Linked DNA regions of Homo sapiens: region 1 is linked to region 2. Evidence: promoter capture Hi-C in human tissues and cell types (Jung and others, 2019). All regions are on one chromosome and are shown on one strand. The core of a region is centred on a gene start or on the middle of the fragment in contact, and the rest is flanking DNA. Distances in the headings are between cores, read along the strand shown. Region 1 overlaps UEVLD (UEV and lactate/malate dehyrogenase domains). Region 2 holds the start of IGSF22 (immunoglobulin superfamily member 22).

Region 1 (6,760 bases), core at 3,383-5,882, 160 kb after region 2:
GCTGTAATCCCAGCACTTTGGTAGGCCGAGGCGGGTGGATCACGAGGTCAGGAGATCGAGACCATCTTGGCTAACGCAGTGAAACCCTGTCTCTACTAAAAATACAAAAAATAAGCCAGGCGTGGTGGTGGGCGCCTGTAGTCCCGGCTACTTGGGAGGCTGAGGCAGTAGAATGGTGTGAACTCAGAAGGTGGAGCTTGCAGTGAGCCAAGATTGCACCACTGCACTCCAGCCTGGGCGACAGAGCGAGACTCCGCCTCAAAAAAAAAAATATGTTTATATGTACCAGAAAGCTAGTAGGGCTGGAGGACAGGGGTATATTGGAGTCCAGTGAGGTTGGAGTAAAGAATGCCTTAGGATTATCACTTTTTATTTTATAGACAGCTTATAAAAAGGTGTATAATTGTAGATGCATTTTACTTTGTTTTATGGTTTTCTATATTTTTATATAGAAAACATTTAAAAAGAAGAAAAAAGAAATAGAAAAAACAAAGGACATACTTCGGATTATCAGTAGTAGGAGTTGACATTTTACTTTGTGAACATTTATGTTATTTGCATTACCTGATGATTTAAATAAGATTGCCAGTTAAATGTGATGAATGGGGCATAATAAAAATTTGTCAGTTGGAAGGACAAAAATGGATCTTACTCTTAATTTTCAGTTGTTTGGTTATTTGAGAAATTGAAATCATTTTCATTTACTTATCAATCGTACGTTTCTTCCTTTTTGAATTGTCTGTTTCTCTCCTCCATCCATTGTTACACCCTTCTTTAAACAAAACAAAACAAAACTATCCTCGAGTAGTATTTTGACATCTGTACCATGTTGCAGGAATTCATGTATCCTGTTTCTTCTCTCTGGTTTTCATTGGCATCTCTTTTCATAATTTTGTTTGTTTAATAAATCCTCGGGGATAGTCTTATAATCTAGTGAAAGTTGTGTTTAATTTTAGTTTAGACAGTTCTGATTTTATTTTACTGTTCTGAGCCTCTTTATTATAAGCTAAAACTAGTCTCTTTTTTTGAGACAGGGTAATGCTGTCTTCACCCGTGCTGGAGTGCAGTAGCACAATCATAGCTCACTGTACCCTCAAATTCCTGGGCTCAAGTGAGTTTCCCACCTCAGCCTTCTGAGTAGCTGGGACTACAAGCATGGTCTACCATCCACTACTAATTTTAAAATTTTTTGTACAGACAGGATCTCCCTATGTTGTCCAGGCTGGTATTGAACTCCTGGGATCAAGGCATCCTCCCACCTCAGCCTCCCAAAGTGATGGGATTACAAGTGTGAGCCACAGTGCCCCCACTTAAAACTAGTCTTAAAAAGACATTACATTATTTAAATTGCCCTATTTAAAAGTACTGCAGCACCTTTAAGTTCCACATGCAGTTGGAATTATAATTATGTAGCATAATTTTATAGAACTTTGGAGCTAGAAGGAATCTAGAGGTCATCTAGGCCAGGGTTTGCAATTTCTCTGAGAGATTCAGAGGGCCGCGTTAGGCCTATGGAATTTGTTTGAACAGCACAGTTCGTTTTGTTTTACCTTGTTTTGTTTTGTTCTTAATGTAAATTTGAATGCCTATTGGCATGCTGTTTCCAATTTGCCACAATAACCGTCTCTCCAGATTTTCTTGTACTTGCCAGCTTCACACATTTAACGTTACCTGCTTGGTCCCCAAAGGTATTTGAATTCTTGGCCCTAATAGCCTCTTCTTACTTTATAAATAGTGAAACTCAGACTCTGAGAAATTAAGCACTTTTTAAATGAGCATACTACTAAATATTCCCAGGAATAATAATAAACATCTGTTTTACACTCACGGCGTATAGTTTGCATTCATTGACTCATTTATTGCTCATAACAACCATTTGGGATTTATTATTCACTTTGTATTACTGATGACACTGAAGCTCAGAAAGGTTAGTGAATTTCATCAAGGTTGCTTAACCAATTACATTAAAAGAATACAGTACCAGATTAGATACTATTAGTGTTAATTTTCTGATTTGATAACGGTTAAAAGGAGAATGTCTTTTTCTTTTAGGAAATATACATTAAAGTACTTAGGGGTAAAAGGACATCATGTTTGCAGTTTACTTGTTCAGTTTGTTCAGAAAAACTAGAGAGAGAAAGACTAAACAAGCAAATGTGATCAAATGTTAACATTTGAGTAATCTAGGTGAAGAGTATATGTACTATTTTTGCAACTTTTCTGTAAGTCTGAAATTATTTCAAAATGAAAAGTTAAAAAAAGGAGAGTTCCTAAACCTAGGTATTCGGCTATTAAGCATATTCATGCTATTTTTCTACTTTTGGGAAATGTTGAATTAGCATTTCTTCTTCCTTTATTTTTCAGTTAAAAGTATTCAGTAATTTTTCATGAAAAGCATTACAACAGTTAAAAGTATCATATAATGTGTATGATGATTTTTGAAAAATGAGAACATGATTGAATGCTTCTTTTTGACTAACTCTAAAAGAATGTATAGGTTAAAAAAGATTTTTTGTTTGTTTTGTTTGGAGATGAAGTCTCATTCTGTTGCCCAAGCTGGAGTATAGTGGTGCAACCATAACTCACTGCATCTGAAACTCCTGGGCTCAAGTAATACTCCTGCCTCAACAAAGGTAGTATTCTTCAGCAAAATTTTTGTGTAACTTTTCTGTTTTTTGTGTATTCTACAGCCTAAATCTGTCATTGTTGGATTAATTAAAGAAATGATTGCCAAGTTTCAAGAGGAACTTCCCATGTATTCTCTATCATCATCTGATGAGGCACGGCAGGTAGACTTGCTAGCCTATATTGCAAAAATCACTGAAGGTTTGTATATTTGTCAGGCAGATTATCTTGAGAGTTATGAGTTACCAGTTTCTCACTAAACTCCTTTACTTTCTGCCACTTGATTTTTATAAATAAATTTGTGTGCGTATGTACATCTGTTTTTGAAATAAGAAATTCCTGTGCCTCAGGCCAGGCGCAGTGGCTCACTCCTGTAATCCCAGGACTTTGGGAGGCTGAGGCAGGCAGATCACCTGAGGTCAGGAGTTGGAGACCAGCTTGGCCAACATGGTGAAACCCTATCTCTACTAAAAATAAAAAAAGTAGCTGGGCGTGGTGGCAGGTGCCTGTAATCCCAGCTACTTGGGTGGCTGAGGTGGGAAAATTGCTTGAATCCGGGAGGCAGAGGTTGCAGTGAGCTGAGATTGAACAACTGCACTCCAGCCTGGGCAACAGAGCAAGACTCCATCTCAAAAAAAAAAAAAAAAGAAAAAAAAAGTAATTCCTTTGCCTTTATCACAGGGTATTACCATGTAATTCCAATAAATATTATTTATTTTTTTATTTTTTTGAGATGGAGTCTCGCTGTGTCACCCAGGCTGGAGTGCAGTGGTACCATATGGGCTCATGCAACCTCTGCCTCCTGGGTTCAAGCGATTCCCCTGCTTCATCCTCCCATGTTGCTGGGACTACAGGCATGCCCAGCCAATTTTTGTATTTTTGATAAGAATGAGGTTTTGCCATGTTGGCCAGGCTGGTTTTGAACTCCTGACCTCAGGTGATCCTCCCGCCTTGGCTTCCCAAAGTTCAGGGATTACAGGCATGAGCCACCGGGCCTGGCCAGGTTTCTTAAAGTGTAAAGAATTGGTCTTAAACAGATAAAACAATTCTTGTTCAAAACCACTTGCTGTATATTAATGATCCCAAACTTTTTTTCATGATATGTATATGTGGCTTGTTGGCTTATTCAATATATTGGATCAGAATATCTATGATTCTCATCAAGAATAAAGGCAAATACCTATGTTTGAAACATTTGGTAAGGTGTTAGACATATTTTTTTATTGTAGACCAGAGCAATGAGTTGGAATATTTTTCAGAATTATGGAAATCCTACTTTTTTAGAGTCTTATACAATATTTTAAAAATGTTTAGAAAGATACATTCTCTTTAGAAGGATAATTTCTATTTAGTCGACTATTTAATAGGAAACGTCTGCCTTCCTTGCATTCATTTGTTCAGTAGTATTTTTTGCCCATTATGGACTAGCACCATATTTTCTCTCTAAGCTATGAAGCCTGCTATATATTTTTTTTAAAGATCCTAAAAAAATTCTTGATATTTTTGAATTCTCAGGATAATTCACCTTTCTTTCTAGGTGTTTCAGATACAAATTCAAAGAGCTGGGCAAATCATGAGAATAAAACAGTCAATAAAATTACTGTGGTTGGAGGTGGAGAACTCGGTATTGCCTGCACATTAGCAATTTCAGCAAAGGTATGTAAACATAGTGGTTATAAATACATCTATCATAGTGCCACACTTCTAGGCAGGTTGTGTTTTACACACCAAAAAATGCCTTCATTTTGTCGTGGGAAAACCTTATTTTGGCTTAAAATATATTTAGTAAGTTGACAAAAAAGTTGAAAGCTTTCATCAGTGATGTTGCCTTTTAATTAGTAGGTTTAAAAAAGTGATTTGAACAATGGGCTTATCCTCATCCAAGGGAAAGCTCAATTTGACATTCATATGACTTAATCACAAATTCTTTTGTATTTTCTGAATCATGCCACTTTAATTAAACTCATTTAATGTAGTAATTTTAGCTCTTTCTAAAATTGGCTTTTTTTTTTTTAAAGATGGCCTTTTCTTACATAATTACTTTCTTTTAGGATCACAGTTTCTGAGTTGATATTTAATACTAGTTTAGGGTTTGTTTTTTTCATCAGTCCTTTTTACTAGTGTCTGCATAAATTGTTTGCAGGAAAGCTTAAATGCCCTTCCAGAGAGGTTCAAAAGACCTGCCTGCCTCCCTCCAGAGCCTAGTATCATGATAACAGCATGTCTTTTGTCATTTGAGAGATGTAGCCCTGAATAGAATAGCTGTACCTCTATATATTTATTTGGTGGCTGGCATTAGTTTTTCTTTTCTATATATATTTGATTGTTTTGCCATCTAAATTCTTCCCTTTCCATTTAAGACTCACATATGTCTTGGAGGTGGGTTCTACTGCAGCAAATAATTAAATTATATCCATGGAGCTAGAATATCTTAAAAGCTGGCTGCTCAGAGTTAAATATGCCAACTTTTGGCATGCTGTAGTTTTATTTCTTTCACCCTCCATTTGAATACACTATCACCTCTTTTTTTTTTTTTTTTTTTTTAGGTGGAGTCTCGCTCTGTTACCCAGGCTGGAGTGTAGTGGTACAATCTTGGCTCACTACAGCCTCCGCCTCCTGGGTTCAAGCGATTCTCCTGCCTCAGCCTCCAGAGTAGCTGGGACTACAGGCATGCGCCACGACGCCCAGCTAATTTTTGTATTTTTAGCAGAGACAGGGTTTTGCCATGTTGGCCAGGCTGGTCTCGAACTTCTGACCTCAAGTGATCCACCTGCCCTGGCCTCCCAAAGTGCTGGGATTACAAGTGTGAGCCACCGTACCTGGCCTGCTATTACCTCTTAATTAGAATTTGAGTTGTATTCAGTCTTTTGTCACTAAATAAATGCTTCTATAAACATTTCAAGTTGCTTGTTTTCTCATCTGAATTTTTATTTGGTCATACATTATTTTATTTTATTTAGACAGGGTCATGTTCTGTTGCACAGGCTGGAATGCAGTGGTGCAATCTCAGCTTACTGCACCCTCCACCTCCCCAGCTCAAGCCATCCTCCCACCTTAGCCTCCCAAGTAGCTGGGCTTACAGGCGCCAGCAACCATCCCCACTAATTCTTGTATTTTTTTGTAGAGACAGAGTTTCACCATGTTGCCCAGGCTGGTCTTGAATTCCTGGGCTCAAGCAATCTTCCTGCCTCAGCCTCCCAAAGTGCTGGGAGTACAAGCATGCCCCACTGCACCCGGCCTGGTTGTACATAATTTTAAAAAATAGTACTAGTGAGTCAGAGGGCATGAATGGTTTTTATAGCACTTATGACATAGTGCCAGATTGCTCTTTGGAAAGGCAGAACTAATTTATGCTGCTAATAACATGCACATCAACCTGATTTTTGACATCCCTAACAGTACTAAGTTTTATTTATTTGTAATTATTTGTCTTTTTTTTTTTTTGGTAAGCACAAGAAGGCATCTGAAAGTCTGAAAGTCATGGTTTTTCATTTTTGTTTTTGAGACCAGGTTTCTCTCTGTAGCCCAAGTTGGCATGCACTGGTATGATCATGGCTTACTGCGGTCTCTATCTCCTGGGCTTAAGAGATCTTCCCACCTCAGCCTCCTGAGTAGCTGGGACCACAGGGGTGTGCCACTACACCTAGGTAATTTTTAGTTTTTTTGTAGAGATAGGTCTCCCTGTGTTGCCTAGATTGGTCTTGAACTCCTGGTTCAGACTATCTTCCTGCCTTGGCCTCCCAAAGTGCTGGGATTACAGGCATGAGTCACTGCTCCTGGCCATGTTTTTAAACTGTTAGAAGAATCTCACTGTCATTATTTGTCTGTGAATTGTCTGGGTGGAAAATTTGCCGTTTTTCAGCTGGGCCCGGTGGCTTACACCTGTACTCCCAGCACTTTGGGAGGCCAAGGCAGGAGAATCAGTTGAGCCCAGGAGTTTGAGACCAGCCTGGGCGACACAGCGAGATCCCCATTTCTACAAAAAAAATTTTTTTTTTTTTCTTTGGAGATGGAGTCTCGCTGTGTCTCCCAGGCTGGAGTGCAGTAGCATGATCTCAGCTCACTGCAACCTCCATCTCCCGGGTTCAAGTGATTCTCCTACCTCAGCCTCCCGAGTAGCTGGGATTACAGGCGT
Region 2 (6,302 bases), core at 1,858-4,357:
AGGGGCAGGATCCAGACAGTGGGGGGCCAGATGAAGAGGGAAGAAAAGCAGAGCTGGTGGATAAAAGGACAGAGGCCGAAAGTGGTAGGACATGTCATCTGTGTCCCTGATAGGAAGGGGCAGAGGGTAATGGTTGGCAAGGGTTGGTCTCTCCAAGACGCACAGGGGCAAGGCCTGGCAAGTGATTGCTACTCCATGGCTTTTGGGGCACCTCCCACAGCCCATCCCTCCACGACCCTGCCCCCACTGTGCATCTCTGCCGGGCAGGGGCGGCATGATCCAGACATGCGAGCAGTACCAGTTTGTGCACCACGTCATGAGCCTCTACGAAAAGCAGCTGTCCCACCAGTCCCCAGAATGACTGCGCTTCTCCTACAAGGTTCTCTGGGCACTGCCCAGCCTGAGTCTCGGCCCTCACCCAGGGCCCTGCCTCGGGTCCTGGGCCTGCTCCCCGCTTCCTCCCCTTCAGTCAGCTCCCTCTGTCCTCTGTCAGCCTGGCCTGACCCCTACCCTCCAGCATTGCTCTTCCTACTGTACATATTGGGGAGTGGGGGGCAGGGTCGGGAAGGGACATGCCAGGCCAGGCCTGGGGCCCCGGGGCCTGACCCACACCACGCAGACCCCGGGCTCCAGTTTTTAACGATGGTTCCATCAATACCTGATCCAGAATGTTTCCGTGCTACACTTTGTGTCCTGCTGCAATGTGTTCTGTCTGTCCATCCATCTCTGCCCTCTGTACCGGACACTGTGTCTCCTCAGCCAGGAAGGGGTAATGAGCTCCAGCCCCTAAGCAACCGGACTTGCCTGCCTCGGCCTCACCCGCACTTCTCCCAAAAGGCAGATGACGGGGAGTTAGGCATGGGGAGCTCCAGAAGGTCACCAGAGAGCTTTCAGCTGAGGGAGAGTTCTCTAGGTTGGAGTGGGCATCACAGCCAGGGTGGCCTCTGGGTGTCAGATGCTCTCAGGAGGGTGCCCAGCCTGTGAGGCACTGGCAAGGTAGGGGGCAGATGGGGCATGGAGAACCCAGAGGATCTAGGCCCTGTTGGGGAGGGGAGGGGAGCTCAAGGTTTGGGTGGGGACTCAGCCCAGATCTACGTGAGACATTTTTCTGTGTCACTGTGGGAAAGCCTTCCCAGAAGTCTCACTGCGTGTTGCTCTGCGTGTGTTCCCATGTCCATGCGTGTGTTGAGAGCCCATCAGGAGGGCATGCATGACTCTTTGGCAACATGTATTATCTTGGAGCCACGTGTTTTTATTGCTGACTTTAAATATTTATCCCACGGCAGACAGAGACATTTGGTGTCTTTTTATAATTCGCTCGTGGTCATTGAATAGAGCAATAAACGGAGCATTTTGAGCAAAACTAACCTCCTGGGTCTGTGTGATTTGCCTCTCCCCTCCACTGCCTTCCTTCCTGTACTTGGGTCTTTGTGCCCCTCCCCAGCATGAGCACAGTGAGCTTGGCCCTTCTGCTCACTGGAGCCCCTTGTGGAGACTGGGAGTATGGAGCGAGTCCAAATTTGTAAAGCCAAACTGGGAACATTCTGCAGGATTCTCACACAGCCTCAGCCCTGGCCCTGACACATGCTCTGGGCCATGGGGAGCCTCAAGGACAGGTGTGGAAGGCTTCCAGGGAAGGCACAGTGGCTGGCAGGTCACCATTTCCAACAGATGTGCCAGAGAAGCCAAGGCTAGGGTAAGGAGACATTCAGGTCACACCCAGGCCCCTCCCTGTTGGCCAAACTCTTATCCCATGTTAGCTCCACAGATCCCAACAGCAGCTGCAGCCCAGTAATTTCCCTTGTAAGGCCTGGGCTCAGAGTAGCTCCTCCCAAGGGGCCCAGGGAATCTGCATGTGGGCTGAGATCCTGAGCCATCCTGGACACTCCTGCTCTATTCTTGTCCCCTGCCCCCCTGGGATGGAGCAAAAGTAGCCATGATGCCACTGCTGGCAGGTGGGGGTCACCCCAGGGCAGAAGGAGGGGTCCAGGGCAAGGGTGCTGACCAACAAGTCCTTACAAGGTGCCAGAACCTTGGGTGGGATCCAGGGTCCAGGCATGCGGGGTGTGCTACAGATGATGAGAAAACAACAGGGTGGGCTGGACACGGTGGCTCACGCCTGTAATCCCAGCACATTGGGAGGCCGAGGGGTGGCAGATCATGAGGTCAGGAGTTCGAGACCAGCCTGACCAACATGGTGAAACCCCATCTCTACTAAAAATACAAAAATTAGCCGGGCGTAGCGGTGCACGCCTGTAATCCCAGATACTCAGGAGGCTGAGGCAGGAGAATCGCTTGAACCTGGGAGGCAGAGGTTGCAGTGAGCCAAGATCGTGCCACTGCATCCAGTCTGGGTGACAGAGACTCCATCTCAAAAAAAAGAAAAGAAAAGAAAACAACAGGTGGCTGAAGCAGCCCAGATGGAAGTCCTTGAGAAGAGGTGGCCATACTCTCCAGTCACCCTCAAGCAGAGACCTCCCCACAACCCCCGGAGGATGGGCCCTCCTACTCTTCTACCCAGATTAGGGAGATTGGGCTGTTGAAGTGGGAAGAGGAAGGAGACCTAACATTTCCCTGTTCTTCCCCAGGGTGGCCTTGTAAAGATACTCAGGCTGTGTATGAACCACACATAGGAGTGCAACATGAATGGGAACCCCTGGATTTGTGTAGCAACGCAGCAGATCCCAGAGGCCCTCCCCAGTTCACCGTGTCCCAGTCCCTGGAAAATACAGACCTGTTGCTTTGCTCCCTGAGCCCTGCTGGACTATGCATGCACCTGTACCTGAGTGTGTGCCTGTGCACACACACTACCCTGAGCCCCTCAGCTCAGAGAGGTCCTACCCAGCAGCAGTGAGAGCCAAAACCTGTACCACAAGGGAACAAAAAAAGTACCCCTGGACTGCCACCCTCAGCCTCCTTCCCGCCTGGCCTTCAGTGTTTCCCCCAGCCTGGATCCAGCTTTGCTTCCCGCCTCCCTTCTCCACCGCCCTCCCCCTCCCCCCACAACCAAGCAGTGTGCCATCTAGCTGAGACAGCTGCAGAGCCTGACTAAGGAATCGCCCCCAGGGGGCCAGACATTTAAGGAACAGATGACACTGGTAGCCTCACTGTTGGGGCAAAGGAAGAAGGAGACGGGCCACCCTACAGTCCAGGCACTAGCTGAGCCTCCAAAGCCGTGGACACAGCATTCGAGTGTTGGGAGGGACTGGTCAGTGCTGAAGGTAAGGCTCCCCTCCTCCCTCAGGAAGGGGACAAAGCTGACCACCTTCTGAGCCCAGAGGGGACTATAGGGTAGAGGGCAGGAATAGGAACAGGGGAGTAGTCTCAGAACCCAAAGGTAGAAGCAGCCCAGGCAGAGATATATTAGGGGGTGGAGAGAGGGAATAGAGTTTAACCCCTAACTACCTGGGTTAAAGAAGGCTTTGGAGCCCTCTGGGACGCCACTGGACTGGAGTCAAAAGCTAGGAGTCTAGTCTGAGTGACCTTGGACAGGTCATTTCTTTCAGACATCAGTTTCCTCATATACGAAATAGGACTTTAAAAACTGCAATGCTGGGCCAGGCGCGGTGGCTCACGCCTGTAATCCTAGCACTTTGGGAGGCTGAGGTGGGCGGATCACGAGGTCAGGTATTCGAGACTAGCCTGGCCAACATAGTGAAACGCCATCTGTACTAAAAATACAAAAAATTAGCCGGGTGTGATGGCGGGTGCCTGTAGTCCCAGCTACTCGGGAGCCTGAGGCAGGAGAATTGCTTGAACCTGGGAGGCAGAGGTTGTCGTGGGCCAAGATCGTGCCACTGCACTCCAGCCTGGGCAACAGAGCAAGACTCTGTCTCAAAAAAACAAAAACAAAAAAACTGCAATGCTGGCCACATGCAGTGGCTCACACCTATAATCCCAGCACTTTGGGAGGCCAAGGCAGGCGGATCAATCGAGGCTAGGAGTTTGAGACCAGCCTGGCCAACAAGATGAAACCCTGTCTCTACTGAAAACACAAAAATTAGCTGGGCATGGTGGCACGTGCCTGTAAACCCAGCTGCTGGGGAGGCTGAGGCAGGAGAATGGCTTGAATTCGAGAGGAGGAGGTTGCAATGAGCCGAGATCACCCAAAAAAAACCGCAATGCTGGTTAAATAAAACATTGAGAAAACATGGTGCTCTGAACAGGAATGAGGAAACGCTATCATCTGGTATGGAAAAAATCTCCAAGACACATTAAATGAAAAAAGAAAGGGTCAGAATAGTGTGTATAATGGGCTACCTTATGTGCTTTTTTAATTAAAAAAAAAAAAGGAAGATGATAAGAACACATGAGTTTTCCTATTTGCATGATGGAGGTCTAGAAGGAGCCTAGAGACTGGCTACCTGTTGCAATGGGGAAGGTTGTAAGATAGACGCAGGAGTGGGAGGGAGCCTGTCCATATGGATTTTTATATTGTTTTATTCTTTAACTATGTGATTGAATTACCAGTTCAAAGAAAAATGTAAGAAAAACTAAACCTTTGCCTTTACCATGTCGCAAACACAAGCAGAATTGTAGTGATGTTTTGTCATCTGTTTTAGCATTCCACCAGTGCCGGGGTCCCCAGGGCCCAGGAATAAGAGACACAGCTTCCTTCTAAAGCCCACTCCAGTATGGCTTAGTCAGGAAGTTCTTTCTTAGGTCTGACTGCATTCCCTCCTGATGAAACATCCAGCACTGCCTCCTTAGTGCCATGTAGCTATCAATAGGTATCCTCAACTCCCTCCAGGCCTTACTTGGTTGGCTGGGTAAGTCTAAGCCCTATAACCTCTCCCTCTGAGACCCTGGAATAGTTTGGAGTTACTCAGTGAGAGGACAGGCCTATTGGGTCTGGTAACTAACCAGGAAAAGGAAGCTAGGAAATGAAGAAAAGAGAGCTCGACTGCTCTCCTGGCCCTCTCCTGTGTGCTTCCATCTCCTCTTATGTCTGAACACACACATAACATCTCTGAATCTCCCTCCTACTCCCTGTCTTGTCCTTCATGGCCTCATCCTCTTCCCCAGTCTCACAGGTGAGTGCCCACGCCTGCTGTCACCATGACAACCATTCACAGCCGGCAGATGCTGCAGGAGCACGTGTCCATGGAGTTCTCCAGCTCCACCACCCACGTGCAGACCTTCTCCCAGACAACCAAGATCGTGGGAGGCAAGTGGAATGGGGGCAGGGAAGGGATCGGGAAGGGCAGCTATTCTTCCTCCACACCCATCCCTTGGGTGGCCCCAGTTTTGCCACTAATGGGCCCCTCTGGAGCCCACAATACCAACAGCAACCCCCACCCAACGTGTGCTTCTAATCTTGGCTTTGTTAAAGCTTCAGCCAGCTGGATGTTCAACACAGATCAGATCTCCAGGAAAACAGCTTAGAAAAGATCAATCATGTGGATGTGTGTGAATGATTGATAAACTCTTAATTGCTGAAGGAGATCAGAGCCATAGGTGAACAGATTCTATCTCCAAAGGTAGAATTTCAGGCATAGGGGAAATTAGGAAGGTAGCCACCTTATCTACATATCAGTAATGCTGACCCTGCTCCACTTAAGAAATAGGAGACTTGGGGCTACCAGTGGAGAAAGAAGGTGAACACATAAACAAGAAGGTGACCTTACCTTCCAGGCTTTTAGCCCTCTGGGGCCAGACTTGGAAGAGGGCAGATCCAAGGGAAAGCTGAGAAATGGTCTCAGAGCTGAACAGAGTGTTTTAGTCACGTCTCTAGTGGAAAGAGATTAAAAGATGGCCGGGGGCCAAGACATTGGATACCCCTTCTCACAGTCATTGCCCCTCCCTCAAAGCCTCAAAGGGATAGAGTCCCTCAAAGTCCTCCGTGCACAGAGGTCAAGGCCAGATAAACACTCTATACCAACCAACACCTCCTGGCCAGTGAGGCAGAGCAAGTGGAACAGCTGGGACTCAAGGCCTATGGTCTAGACCAGAAGTTCCAAACTCAAGTGATTTACAGCAGTGATTCTCTGCTGTGGCCGCACATCAGAGTCACCTTAGTGCAGGGGGTGTGAGGAGGGCAAAAATATGGCAGTACCTGAGTCTCACCCCAGACCATTCAATCAGGTATTTCTTATAAAGTTCTCCATGGATTATATATGTGCAGCCAAAGCTGTAGACCACTGACCAACAGGGCCCAGGCAGGGAACATAAATGTGGGGAAAAGACTGGGGTAAACTAGAGACTGTATATCCCATCTAAAGGGGCAGCCACTATTCACCTCCCACTGACTGTTGCCATATGGGAATACAGGTTCAGTGTTGAGAATCCAGAAATCTGAATTT

The links. The method cuts DNA at HindIII sites, captures the fragments that hold promoters and counts their contacts. A contact is called where the count stands out against the background at its distance.
Region 1: a contact is called between a fragment that was not itself captured here and the fragment with the promoter of IGSF22 in region 2, in 1 of the 25 tissues and cell types used here (lymphoblastoid cells).

What each region holds. Positions count from the first base shown.
Region 1 is chr11:18,562,413-18,569,172 of GRCh38, reverse strand. It overlaps UEVLD (UEV and lactate/malate dehyrogenase domains), which reads left to right. Exons shown (of 12, transcript NM_001040697.4): 5 at 2,691-2,826; 6 at 4,163-4,281. Among named protein-coding and RNA genes, the nearest start is that of UEVLD, 23 kb to the left of the region's middle. The HindIII fragment of the contact is 5,839 bases long and covers 1,713-6,760 here.
Region 2 is chr11:18,722,993-18,729,294 of GRCh38, reverse strand. IGSF22 (immunoglobulin superfamily member 22) reads left to right here and starts at 3,107. Exons shown (of 23, transcript NM_173588.4): 1 at 3,107-3,221; 2 at 5,026-5,167. The coding sequence starts at 5,059. The region is part of intron 2 of IGSF22-AS1 (IGSF22 antisense RNA 1); the gene reads right to left. PTPN5 (protein tyrosine phosphatase non-receptor type 5) reads left to right here. Exons shown (of 15, transcript NM_006906.2): 15 at 268-1,367. The coding sequence ends at 361. The HindIII fragment of the contact is 11,359 bases long and covers 1-6,302 here.